3 separate regions of the Homo sapiens genome follow, and all the other regions are linked to region 2. Evidence: promoter capture Hi-C in 16 types of primary human blood cells and fetal thymus (Javierre and others, 2016). All regions are on one chromosome and are shown on one strand. The core of a region is centred on a gene start or on the middle of the fragment in contact, and the rest is flanking DNA. Distances in the headings are between cores, read along the strand shown.

Region 1 (4,218 bases), core at 1,066-3,565, 570 kb after region 2:
GACCAGGTTATCATCTAGTCTGTCAAGGCCACATAAACCTGCTCAGTATTTGATTGAATTCAATTAGCAATTGATGCAGACTCTAATCTGGACATTATGGAGTGCTGGAAATCACTCACTATTGCTGTCACAATAATATTAATCAAGTTGTAATTGGTGAATTAAAACCAAAACTGCAAATGTCTGCTGAAAGAACATATGGAGTGAAATTGTGAAAGCTTCCTGAAGGTTGATGGCAAAGTTAGGAAAATAATTCCTGCAGCAAAGGAGAAGGATTTGCCAACATACTTGCTCAGGTGGAAGAACATTTTGAAGGCCATCAAGAAGTATTAACAAATAAGAAATTGGAAGAACTTGTTGAATCATCTACAGAGGAATAGGGATACGAAGAAGAATAAAAAACAGAAGCAGAATCAGCAATGTGGACATTACGAAAATTTGCTGACATGTTTTCAGCTGCAAAGACATTAAAGGACAAAATTATGGAATATAATCCTTGGATCAAATGCAGCATTAAAGTCACTCATATGATTATGATTACCAAAGGATTACAACCTCGGCAGCAACACTTTGATGAGTTAAAAAGAAAGAGACAACAAATTTTTATTATGGTTATAATGTTATTCCAAAACATTTTGGCAAAAAACTTCAATTATGGAATCCTCTACCATCACATTGTCTGCTCCAGGCATCCAATCATGGCTGAATGATCCAAGATCACCAGAAGCAGATGATCTTCTTTCTGACTTATTAGAAGCTCAATAGCAGCCTAATGCTCCATCAAAATGCCTGCCATTCACCTCACTTCAGCTCATCACATACATAGGCATTGTATCATTTCACATCATCATCATAAGGGTTAGTACAGCAAAATAAGATATGTTGAGAGACAGGGAGATAGCACATTAATATAACTTTCATTACACTATATTATTATACTTGTTCTCTTATTATTATTGTTATTAATATCTTACTTTACCTAATTTATAAATTAAACTTTATCATACGTATATATGTACAGGAGAAAACATAGTATAGATTCTGGTAGTATTCATTTTCAGATATTCACTGGGGGGTCTTGGAACATATCACCTGTGGATAAAGGAGGATACTATAATGATCACTGTAGTTTACTACTTGCTCAGACAAAAATATATGGTATGATCCTTGACTACTTTCTTTCTCTCATATCCTATATTCAATTCATCTGCACTTTACTTTTAAAGTATGTTCCAAAAACATCTAGTTCCTACAGTATCTAATATGCACAGTAGTCCCAGGCACTATCATCTCTTGCCAGAACTATTGACTGCTACAGTCTTCTAAATGGTCTCTTTCTCCACCTTATTTCTTATAGTCTTTTATCCACACAGCAGACAGAGTGATCCTTCTAAGTTGGTTCATATCACAGCTCTATTCACATCTCTCCATGGCTTCTATTCCAGGCAGAATTAAACCCCAAGTCTACATCAGAGCGTCCATGTCCCCCATGATTGTGCCACTGTGCCACTCACTTCACCACTTTGCCCTCATTCTATCAGTCTTTCTCTTGCTTGTCTTTTCCATGTCCGGGATTATGCCAAGATCATTTCCATCTTAGTGTGTTTGTGTGTATTCTACTGCTTGGAATCCTCTTCCTCAGAAACTCACAGGACTTGTTTTCTCACTTTCGTGTCTCAGCTCCCCTGTTGGCTTATCAGAGAAGCCTTCCCTCATCACTTTGAACTAAAGATTTCTTCTTGCCCCAGTCACACTCTATCACATTATCCTCTCCATACTTCATGACACTTACTCTCCAACATGTATTTCTTTCTTAATTCAATAGTGTTTGTTGAAATATAAACCCATGAGAGTGACAACTTGTCTGTTTTGTTCGCTACCATACTTCCAGCATCTAAAACAACACTTGGCATATATAATAGACACTCAATAAATCTTTGTTGAATAAAGAAACATGTAATTGCATTATAGTGCTATAAGTGCCAAGATAGGGAAAATACTTTATGCCAGTGAAGCACTTAGGAAATGTCGAAGAAAGCTTTCAAGGGAAGTGATATCTAAGCTGAGTTCTGATGAATAAATTAGACAATTAAGGTTGGGAGAAGGGAACAAATGGAGTGAAATGAGGAAGTAGTCCATGGGAAGCCGAAGCTGAAGGCTCAGTAGAAACACTTAAACTGGGAAAACCATGTAGGGCTTAGACTTCACCTTAAGAGCAATGGGGAGTTATTGAAGTGCTTTACCAGATGAGTGCGGTCAGCATTACATTTTCTAAGGATCAGTCTCCCTAAGAAACAAATTCATTGTGTAGGGTTGAAAATGGCGAAGCTATCTCAGTTAAGAAGATATGACAATAATCCAGGAAACGTATGGTGTCCTCCAATTTGAGTATGAAGAAAATCTGGTAAATTTTAGGCAAATGAGATTGCTGAATAAAACTGAAATGCATGATTGATTGAATATAGAGAGAAGATGGAGAGGGAGAGAGATGAGCCAACACTTACTAGGTTTCTGTCTTGGGAAACTGGGTGCATAGTAGTTCTACTACTGTGATAAAAGCATGTTTGTGTTCAGGGGAAGATGATAAGCTTATCTGGGTATGGTGAATTTGAGGTGCCTTAGAGGCAGTTAGATGTGTGAGGCTTAAGGTCAGCAGAGAGGTTATACCTAAAAAGAGATAGATGTAGGAATTGTTAGTGTAAATGTGGTATTTACTGCCACGGGCTTAGATGAGACCCCCTAGCTCAGGAAGACTTTTAGAGCCTGAAATGAAATGAAGCTGTCTCCATCTCCATGGGATCAGGGTTAATAACAGAAGCTGAGAAAATGTAGGATGGAGAAACAAGTTTCTCAATGATGGAACAGCTGAGGGGAGGGCCTCATGTATATGAGTCATCTTAAAAAGTTCTGTGCTCCTACACAGGCTGAGGCTTAGGCTCTCTTACAGGAATGCAAGCAAAAGGAAAGGACTAGCCGGGCACGATGGCTCACACCTGTAATCCCAACAATTTGGGAGGCCGAGGCAGGCAGATCACTTGAGGTCAGGAGTTCGACACCAGCCTAACCAACATGGTGAAACCCCATCTCTACTAAAAATACAAAAATTAGCCAGGCATGGTGGTGCGAACCTGTAATCCCAGCTACTTGGGAGGCTGAGGCAGAAGAATGGCTTGAACCTGGAAGGCAGAAGTTGTGGTGAGCTGAGATTGTGCCACTGCACTACAGCCTGGGCAACAGAGCAGGACTGTTGTCTCAAAAAAAAAAAAAAAAAAAAGAAAAAAAAAGGACTTCTCTAGAGAGGTATAAGATATTCTGCATTTTGAAATACAGTAATGTATTATTTCTTCTATGGTAATAATACTTCTAGAAGTGAATTTGATTATTGAAAAGCAGAATCTTCAAGAAATAACACTAGTAGAGAAAAATAATTCAACCCCATTTTCTTGTTACTTTGACCTTTCTTTTTATTTCTCAATTTCAATTATAATTACTACACTTCCTGTTCCCAAAACTTTTGTGTCTTGTCTGCTGATGCTGTCAGTAACATTATACAACTATGAAGATTTGGCTTAAAAATACAAAACATATGAACCATATTTAATTAAATTCTGTTGGTTGAAAGCACATGAAAGAATTTTCCATGTATGCATAGCTCATTATTGCCTTTACCAAAACCTCTTAGCCTTTGGAGGAGACTGCTGATGACAATAATCACATCAGCCCCCGAGAGGAAACTAGGCCTCTGGGCTTCCAGGGATCACCAATTCTTTTCCAGTATTAACAAATATTTTCCAACTCCCTCTTGTATGTAAATAGTAAACATCTTTGGTATGAAAGCAGACATAATTTCAATATTTATAGTTTATATTAGTAATGATTCACACAATAATCATGATTGTGTGAGATTTCTCTAGAAATTCATGAAGCCAATTTTAGGGTATAAAATAGACTTATATGGTGTTGGGTGATTATAAGTGAGCTTTGACACTGAAGAAGCTGCAAACTTATTTTACATAACTATTTTCAAATACTGTCTTAAAACTTTTTTTTTAATATGATTACATAACTACTTTTCAAATACTTTGTTAAAACTTCCTTTTCCTCTGTATGATTGAAGGTGTTTTGAGGGATCTCTTTACTACAAAATACCTTTTAAGCCATATTTACAGTACAGTCAGGTGTCTCAATGACAGTGATACCTTCTTAGAAATGTCTTGT
Region 2 (4,885 bases), core at 586-3,085:
CTCATTGTGGTTTCAATTTGCATTTCTCTGATGACCAGTGATGATGAGCATTTTTTCATGTGTCTGTTGGCTGCGTAAATGTCTTCTTTTGAGAAGTGTCTGTTCATATCCTTCACCCACTTTTTGATGGGGTTGCTTGTTTTTTTCTTGTAAATTTGTTTGAGTTCTTTGTAGATTCTGGACATTAGCCCTTTGTCAGATGAGTAGATTGCAAAAATTTTCTCCCATCCTGTAGGTTGCCTGTTCACTCTGATGGTAGTTCCTTTTGCTGAGCAAAGACACATGCACACGTATGTTTATTGCGCACTACTCACAATACAAAGACTTGGAACCAACCCAAATGTCCAACAATGATAGACTGGATTAAGAAAATGTGGCACATATGCACCATGGAATACTATGCAGCCATAAAAAATGATGAGTACATGTCCTTTGTAGGGATATGGATGAAGCTGGAAACCATCATTCTCAGCAAACTATCGCAAGGACCGAAAACCAAACATCGCATGTTCTCACTCACAGGTGGGAATTGAACAGTGAGAACACATGGACACAGGAAGGGGAACATCACACACCGGGGCCTGTTGTGGGGTGGGGGGAGAGGGGAGGGATAGCATTAGGAGATGTACCTAATGTAAATGATGAGTTAATGGGTGCAGCACACCAACATGGCAGATGTATACATATGTAACAAACCTGCACGTTGTGCACATGTACCGTAGAACTTAGAGTATAATAAAAAAAATTTTTTTAATCTTCTTTGATAGTGTTAATAACTTAATTTTTTGTATTAAAGTTTTTCTAAATGCTCACGACAAACATTAGAAAAAACTTAGGAAACATACAGTTTAATTTAAAAATATTAATCATATTCACACATCTTTTCTGCAAAACGACAACTTAAATAATGGTAGCTTTTTTCAACTCCAAACACTAAGAAAACTACAACAACAAAACCACTCCTCTTTGTCAAATAAGGAAAACTCAAACTTTTGGCAGTCTGCAAACTGTGAGGTTGACTTTATAATTTTTCATCACAAGGTATACCTCCTGAAGCCTCTTAACTATTTTCAGAAAAAGACAGTGTTGCTGATAATGCAATATATCCTGCATGTTCAACCTTTGTGAATCATACCATGTAGGGCAATTGACTTGGTGAGCAAAATCTCCATGGTCACCTGGGTAGCTGCATTTAGAAATAGGAGCTGTCCAGTCAAGGTTACAGCACTTGTTTTCTTTCCTTAGAATTCAATGCAGTTAAATATCATCTGTAAATTTTGATTAGCTTTGCAAGGCTATTGAAGGTTTGTATATTCCAATGCCTCTGATTAATCAAATTCAATTAAAAATGAAAATAAAGATTTATTTATATAATAGTAGGGAATATATCCTCTTCTTATTTATTTTGAGTTGAAGAGATGGAGATAAATCCAATAGAAAAATAACAATAATAATGTTCAAACATTTTCAACATGTAAAGAATTGTATTTAGAACTATCAAAAATTTATACAATAGGATGTTTTATCACAGAATCTGGAAAGGAGACTTCTAGAAATTGAGAAATACAGGATATTTCTGATATAAGACTGAATGCAAATGTGTATATTCTAAGAAATACAAAAACAACTTGGTAAAAAAAAAAAAGACACTTAAAATGAGTGCTGTGTGCTTTCCTTTCTGGTTTTTATTATTTTTAAATTGTTCCTTCAGCCACCAAAGTTATATGATGGTTTCTGAACAGCGTTTACTTTTGTGACAGTTTCATCTCACTCTGTTGTCCAAACTGATAAAGTCCAGAAGTCTAGAAACAGCAAGGGACTCCCTTCCTCTGTTATATGTAAGCTGACAAGAGGCAGACAAACACGTTCTGAAGTTTTGTGCATGCTGCGTTTTCTCTCCTTGCTGCAACAAGAAAAGCCTTTGTTTTCCAACCTGGCAACCTTTGAAGAAGTGACTCAGACATCTTCATGGCCTCTAAAGGTAAGAGTAAATATAACCAACTAATAACTTTTTCTTATATTAAGACTAAAAATATACAATTGTGGATGTGTTACAACCAGTTAGATTGGTACTTTAAAAGCTGTCATTTGTCACTTTTGAACATTGTGATTTTAAAATCTTAACTCCCAGGAGCATGTTGAGTTACATGTAAAAACACTTTATCTGACAGACTGTAAAAGTTCAGATGTAAACGATGTTTTAGTTATCATGAATACAAACATAGTGAATTAATAAGAAAAGCTGCATAGCAAAGTTTAGAATGGGAATCTTCAATGTTAAACACAAGGACAGGGTGATATTTTAAGTTTAAAAGGATTTGAAGAAAACTTTTCACACATAAGTTAGAAAGTGTTAAAGTGCAATTTAATAATTTTTTTAATTAAAATATTAAAAATTTATGTGGGTACATAGTAGGTATATATACTTATGGGATACATGAGATGTCTTCATACAAGCAGGCAATGTGAATTAAGGACATAAAGGGGAATGGGATATCCATCCCATCAAGCATTCAGCCTTTGAGTTACAGACAATCCAGTTACACTCTCTAAGTTTTATTTTCCCATTTGTTATTCAAATTATGTGATATAGCCATTTATTATAAAGAATCTGACATGCGTTATTATTGATTCTTAAATGTGATGGGCTAGAAATAAGTATTTCTGAATTATAAAGCAAAAATATCTTGAAATTTCCTTATGGTAAATTAAAGATAGAAAACAAACAGAAAATATCTGCTTTAAGCGCACAGATCACTTAGCAGACTTTTGGGGAGTAGGACTGATGAGTTTTTTCTCAAATTCCTAAAACTGCAAAAATATCATTACGTTATCTTACTTTAAAGAAGGTCTAAAAAGACAAGAGATGTAGTTGTTTTTAAAGTAAGTTGCAATCTCACTAAAAACACTTGTGAAACTGTGTAAGAAATAAAATTATAATGTGCTTTCATTTCATTGTCAGAATGAACCACTAAAGCCTAGGCTATAATGAAAAGTTTTAGCATGAAGAATTATAATTAGTATAATTGGTGAAAACCTTTTAAATTAATTACAAATAGGATAATAGGGCTCATCAATTTGTAATATCCTAAATTAGTGATCCATTCAAACAAATGTGTATGCTTACTTGCTTCCTTTATCAAAACACACTTTTGGTCACTATTTAATATGAAACAAATGAGATAATCTTTCCATTTTTTATCAATCTTTAATGTAGACCAGTCCCTCAGTCCCTCAGAATCACTGAGAAAGCTCACACAAATTGTAAAACATAGATGTGAAATAGCAAAATCATGAATTTAACATATGTGTCATTTTTTTCTATCTGAAGACAAATAAACAAAAAACCTTGACAAATATTTCCTTTCATTTAAGACTGACACTACTATTTAGTCCAAAATACTTCATCACTTTATAAAATAAGAGTTACAGCAATACTGTAGACTGTAAGGTAAAAAGTTGCAGAGTGTATAAAATATTTATAAGCTAGTTATACATTTTTAAAAGAGTAGATAGAAATTCAAAGCCAGTACGAAATTCAAAGGAGTTCCTTCTTCATCTGGTTGTCTGAGTCTTTGAAGAAACTTGTGACTGGAAAGTAATATTATGTCAAAATATGATTAATCTAACAGGAAGCAGTGATGTTCCATAATGATAAAGACCCAAGTCTAAACTTAGAAGCAAAACTTCAGGTGGAAAACTGACCCTCCTTCTGCAACCGGCTCAAAATATTTAATGCATGGAAGGATAAAACACCTATTAGAGACTTCATACTACCTAGGAGAATATAAGTGATAATGAAGCTTTCTTGTGAATTAGATATCTTGTTTAAGAGGGCAAGTCAAATTATCACCATTATCTAAGTAAAACATTTTTGTGGATAGTTTTCTTCAGCTGTATATAAACACATTATTTATAACATCATGTTTTCTTGTCCAGTAACTATATTGGCAATTAGCATTTTCCCAGGGAATGCAGACTAATTGTACATTTCACATATTTCATAGGCAGATCAATCAGCACTACTAAACCAAAAGACAGTCTAAATACCAGGTGCCATTAGAACTGAAGAGACATTTGTGTGAGCTGGAGCATCCTGGCTTAGTAGAAATTAACACAATTTAAGAGCAAGTTGCTCTCAAACACGGTGATCTGAACTGAGCAAGAGCTGTCTCCAAAGGTTGCTTCAATGTGAACTAAAATCCCAGAAGAAGCAGCTAGTGATCTCAGAATAGTGATGTCTCTCAACAGTCTCAGGCAGAGACTCACTCACACTCTACTCCTAAATAAAGACTTTGGACACAATATCCTCTGAGCTCCAAGTGCATTAATGCTTCTGGACTTGCTGTGAAGTCTAAGGCCCTCCAGGACTGGGCGGGAATGTACAGCTACTTGCCAAACCCTCCATAACCTACTGCATTTTGTTACAGCAAACATAATTTACAAGATAAAATTGGGGTAATTTGTGAATCCCTTTAACAATTAAGTTTACAATGAGAGAGAATCTAAAAATCTTATACTAGCTATTGTTAGAAATTAATCCCTACACATGGTTTTTAATTGAGAGATAATATGTGCAGTGAAGTACATAGAGCACAAAACCTAGGCTCCATGATTTTTAAAATAAGGACCCATTCATGACCACCACCAAGATCAAGATATAGACATTTCTAGATTCTATAATGTTCTCTTTCTAGCCAATAGCCATGCATCCTCCCTTTCCCAAGATGGACCACTATTCTGGATTTTATCATTGTGAACTAGTTTTCCCTATATCATAATTTTGCTTCTATGTTTTTCTGAAAGTGACAATGGTACATTTTGCACTAACGCTAAAGAAATAATGTTTATTGCCTTTTAATATTTTTGCATCATTATTGTTATA
Region 3 (4,303 bases), core at 1,417-3,916, 520 kb after region 2:
GATTTAGTAGATTGGACTGAAGAGTAGAGAAAGAGATTTGACACATCTTGGGCATGTGGCTTTCTACCTTCTCATCAGCTCTCTTTTTTCCTCTTCTCTCCCTATCTCTATTTGCTCCCTTGCTCTAAATTTTACTCCTTAAATTGTATAATAATATGAATCATTCCTCAGCTGCCATCCTTACATTTTTATTCACAAAAACATTGAGGTATACAGCAGATGAATTTTGGTTTCCCAAATTTGTTGGTTTAAACCTTTTCAGGAGGCAGCTGGGATTATAAATTACAAGTTCTTTTTAAATTAAATGTTTGATATTCATATTGAATTATTTCCCAAATTAATGTATGTAGATTCTAATTCATGTTATTATTTCCAGTATTGTAGGTATTCAAAACAAAACAAAACATGTGTTTCTGATTAATAGTTTAGTAGGAATTCGGAAGAATAAACCAAAATTTATTATTTTGCATGATGTGTATTTATTTTTATTTATTTATTTTTTTGAGATGGAGTCTTGCTCTGTCGCCCAGGCTGGAGTGCAGTGGCATGATCTTGGCTCACTGCAACCTCCGCCTCCCGGGTTCAAGCGATTCTCCTGTGTCAGCCTCTTGATTAGCTGGGATTATAGGTGCGTGCCACCATGCCTGGCTAACTTTTTTTGGTATTATTAGTAGAGATGGGATTTCACCATGTTGGTCAGGCTGGTCTCAAACTCCTGACCTTGTGATCCGCCCGCCTCGGCTTCCCAAAGTGCTGGGATTACAGGCATGAGCCACTGCGCCGGGCCCGATGTGTGTTTATTTATTTCACTTTTGTGCATGTAATAGAAAGGGCCCGGCTGGTCTTCACAAGATAGAGGTGAAATAGGTTTTCTTTTTTCATATAAAGAATAGTTGTTCCATAAATTTGCTTTCTAAAATAGTTAAAGGAAAGTTCAGTGTTGCCAGGACTAGCTTACTGTAATCACAAGTCATTTTTTAAAGTCATGGAAAACTGGAAACATACTTAAGTAATTTGAGACTTAATTACAGGAAAGCTTTGCCTGTTTACAAACATCTCAGTTCATCTTCATTCATTTTTTACAAATTCAACAAATATTCATTGAATATCTTAAATGCACCAGGGGCTGTTGTTCACCCAGTGACAATGAAAATATTTGGTTTCATTTAATATAGGTTCCGAAATACTTTAGTTAAACTTAAATATAATTAAATAACTAAAGTAGTTTCCCTCTGTTGGATGTAAGCAAGGCATTTTTAAAAGTCATTTTTATGTATTCATTAGCATTTTCAATTACTTTTTCCTTCTTTGTTACTCTTTTTAAGAAATATGATTGAAAATTAGCAATATACTTACTTAAGAAAAGATGTTGGGAAAGAAGATCCTTATTTTATTTTTATTAACTACAGGTTTGTTGAATGAGCTTTCTTGTGTTATATGTCATACTAAGCCCAAAATACATAATTCTGTGGTAATTTAAAAATAAATAATTATATAGGTTTCTCTCTCTCACACACACTCTCTCTGTCTTTAGAAAGATCATTGCTCCTCTTGTAACTCGTCATGGAAAGCTGTGGTCCAATTTCTGGGGAGCATTGAGTCCTGATGGATACTATGCACGATCTGAAGATTATGTGGATATTGTTCAAGGGAATAGAGTGTAAGTTACTTGGTTTAATATTTTAATGTGAAATACCATAATCTAAAGATGTAGTCTTGTTAGTATTACTTGAAATTTTTTTTGCATTCATCTCTTTTCTTTATAGTTAATGGGAATTTGAGAACCCAAGACCACTTGGAATCCTGAAATACTAGTATAAAACTAATATCTTAAAAAAATGTTTTTAAAGTCCCAAATCTTCAAAGGAACAAGCTCATTGCTGTGGGGAATACTAAGAGATAATATATGTTTACCATACTCACATTATGGTTGATAGAAGAGTAATACTCTTTATTTAAAAGCTTGGAAAGGGGATTTAGTTTACTAACTTTTTAATGGTTATAATTAAGGGTTGTTTTGATAGGTTTTAAAATTTATAATTAAGCCAACAGTAACACTAACAGCCAGAACATTCCAGTATTCCTGATTGCATGAGTTTTTTTGTGTGAAATAGCTATTATTCTGCTTTAAATACAAGTTTTTTTTACCAATATTAGATTTTCACTTCTAGAGATTGAAAAGAATATATTTGCTGAAAAGTGTGTGCATGATTTATATTTATTTCAGAGACAATGGTTGATTACTAAAAATAATCACAATTGAAATAGTTTTGCTAAGGTAATATTGGAGAAGAATGTCATTCTTTTTTTCATACATATGATGGACCAGAGTGACTAAGACATTACATGCTTTGCCTTAGTTCTCAAACATGTCAGCCTGATTAAAAAGGGGCAGTATACTCTCAGGACTAAAAGGATGTGCCCTTACATTTAGAAAAAAAAAGGCACACGTTTCTGTTCAAACAGTTGAGTGGTAAAAAGATGTGTTGCTTGTGGAAATAGTAATTGGTGTGGAAAGCTTCAATCTGAATGATGTAAATACAATAAAGGTTTTTGTTAGCTGCAATTAAAATGCACAGTGGAGGAGAAAAGACTATTAAGATCGTATTCTGTTGTTTCTGTGCAGTTGTATTGACTCTGGGTGAGTTGTATAGACAATATACCTGATTGTATCTTTGGGCACATCACAAATGAGGGTTTGTGAAAGTAGAATGGAAAATTTGTTTCAAGTTGCTTTAGGCATTGGTGATTTTCTGTCCAACCTCCTGTCATTCTTGTCTAAAGTATAAGGAAAAAAATATGGCAGAAGCTTTTGATCTGGAATACACTTCATGTCCAAAAGCTACACGAAGGAGCAACTGTGTGTGTGTGTGTATGTGTGTGTGTATAAGTTGAAACACTGAATAATTCCCCAGAGATTAATTTCTGAATTTAGCTGACACGTTGTATACAGTAATTCCCCTTTATCTATGGTTTTGCTTTCCATGGTTTCAAGTCTACTGTGGATTGAAAATACGAAGATATGTTGAGATAGAGAAAGTGTAAACATTCATGTAACTTTTATTACAGCATATTGTTATAGTTGTTCTATTATTGTTGTTAGTCTTACTGTACTTTATGTATAAATTAAACTTTATTATAAGTATATATGTGTAGGAAAAAACGTAGTGTATGTGTAGCGTTTGTTACTATCTGCTTTCAAGCATCCACTGGGGTCATGGAATGTATCACCCTCACATAAGGCGGGGACTGCTGTACTCCTTAAGGCATTTTTCTTTGAGGCTAGTCTAGTAAGACATAATATCATATTTCCGTTAATATCTAACTGCATTTCTTGGTCAAGATCTTGCCTTGATGTTCTCTAAAAGAAAGGCGCACAGTCTTAGGGGCAAAACTTGTTTTGCAGTTTTTATGAAATCAGTCATGTTCAGAGTGAGAATATAGATGTGGGAAAGGATGCAACGTTCATGTGCTCCCAGCTGTATTTCTTCATGTTTTCCTTTTTCTATAAAATATTTAAGATGGCTTAATGAATGGTAAGAGAATATAATTTTGGAGAATTTTAGGCTATATTCAGTGGTATTTTGGTAAATGTGTAACAACTGGCTTTTGGAGGTGGAGGATTCCCTGATTTAAAGTGCTTGCCCATTTGTTTGGTGTAAATACTTCTACCATGGCTGATTTCAAGTTTCCAATGTGAAATTACTGAACATGGACTTGGCAGAAAAAGTTAACTTTGGGGAGCCAGTATGAGCTGGGTCTAGTGCACCACTGGTTGTATGTTATGATTCATGCTATCAAATTCTTTAATTTTAAATAGAAACACCGTCTATACAATAGATTATAATAGTCTAATTGTAACAACTGATTGAGATATGATAGCTATAATACAAATGCCAAACAGATACCAACCCAAAATTGAAATGTATCCAAAGGGGCAGTGGTTTATCTCCTAAATCTCATTAAATATAGTGTATACAATGTAATCTTATATATATATCATTGAATATATTTGTATGTTGATTCAATAATTTATGTATACAAAATCTAAACACAAAGCATTTATTTTAAAAAGGTAAAAATGAAACTTAAAATTGTTTGTATTTGTGGTATATAAGAATGTCTTCTCTTTACTTTCAGAGGAGTATGGAATGTCCCATATATGGCTAATGTGTACTTAATTAAAGGAAAGACACTCCGATCAGAGATGAATGAAAGGAACTATTTTGTTCGTGATAAACTGGATCCTGATATGGCTCTTTGCCGAAATGCTAGAGAAATGGTAAGATATGCAGTGATGGCT

Evidence for each region. Contacts are between HindIII fragments. The CHiCAGO score rates a contact against its expected background, and 5 or more counts as called.
Region 1: a contact is called between a fragment that was not itself captured here and the fragment with the promoter of PLSCR5 in region 2, in 1 of 17 cell types (monocytes). The highest score is 6.2, in monocytes.
Region 3: a contact is called between a fragment that was not itself captured here and the fragment with the promoter of PLSCR5 in region 2, in 3 of 17 cell types (monocytes, total B cells and M2 macrophages). The highest score is 6.1, in monocytes.

The regions. Positions count from the first base shown.
Region 1 is chr3:146,036,567-146,040,784 of GRCh38, reverse strand. No RefSeq gene overlaps it. Among named protein-coding and RNA genes, the nearest start is that of LNCSRLR, 31 kb to the left of the region's middle. The HindIII fragment of the contact is 550 bases long and covers 2,041-2,590 here.
Region 2 is chr3:146,602,296-146,607,180 of GRCh38, reverse strand. It overlaps PLSCR5 (phospholipid scramblase family member 5), which reads left to right and starts at 1,835. Exons shown (of 8, transcript NM_001085420.2): 1 at 1,835-1,981. The coding sequence starts at 1,969. The HindIII fragment of the contact is 8,012 bases long and covers 1-3,805 here.
Region 3 is chr3:146,079,095-146,083,397 of GRCh38, reverse strand. It overlaps PLOD2 (procollagen-lysine,2-oxoglutarate 5-dioxygenase 2), which reads left to right. Exons shown (of 20, transcript NM_182943.3): 12 at 1,535-1,660; 13 at 4,141-4,282. Among named protein-coding and RNA genes, the nearest start is that of LNCSRLR, 12 kb to the right of the region's middle. The HindIII fragment of the contact is 291 bases long and covers 2,521-2,811 here.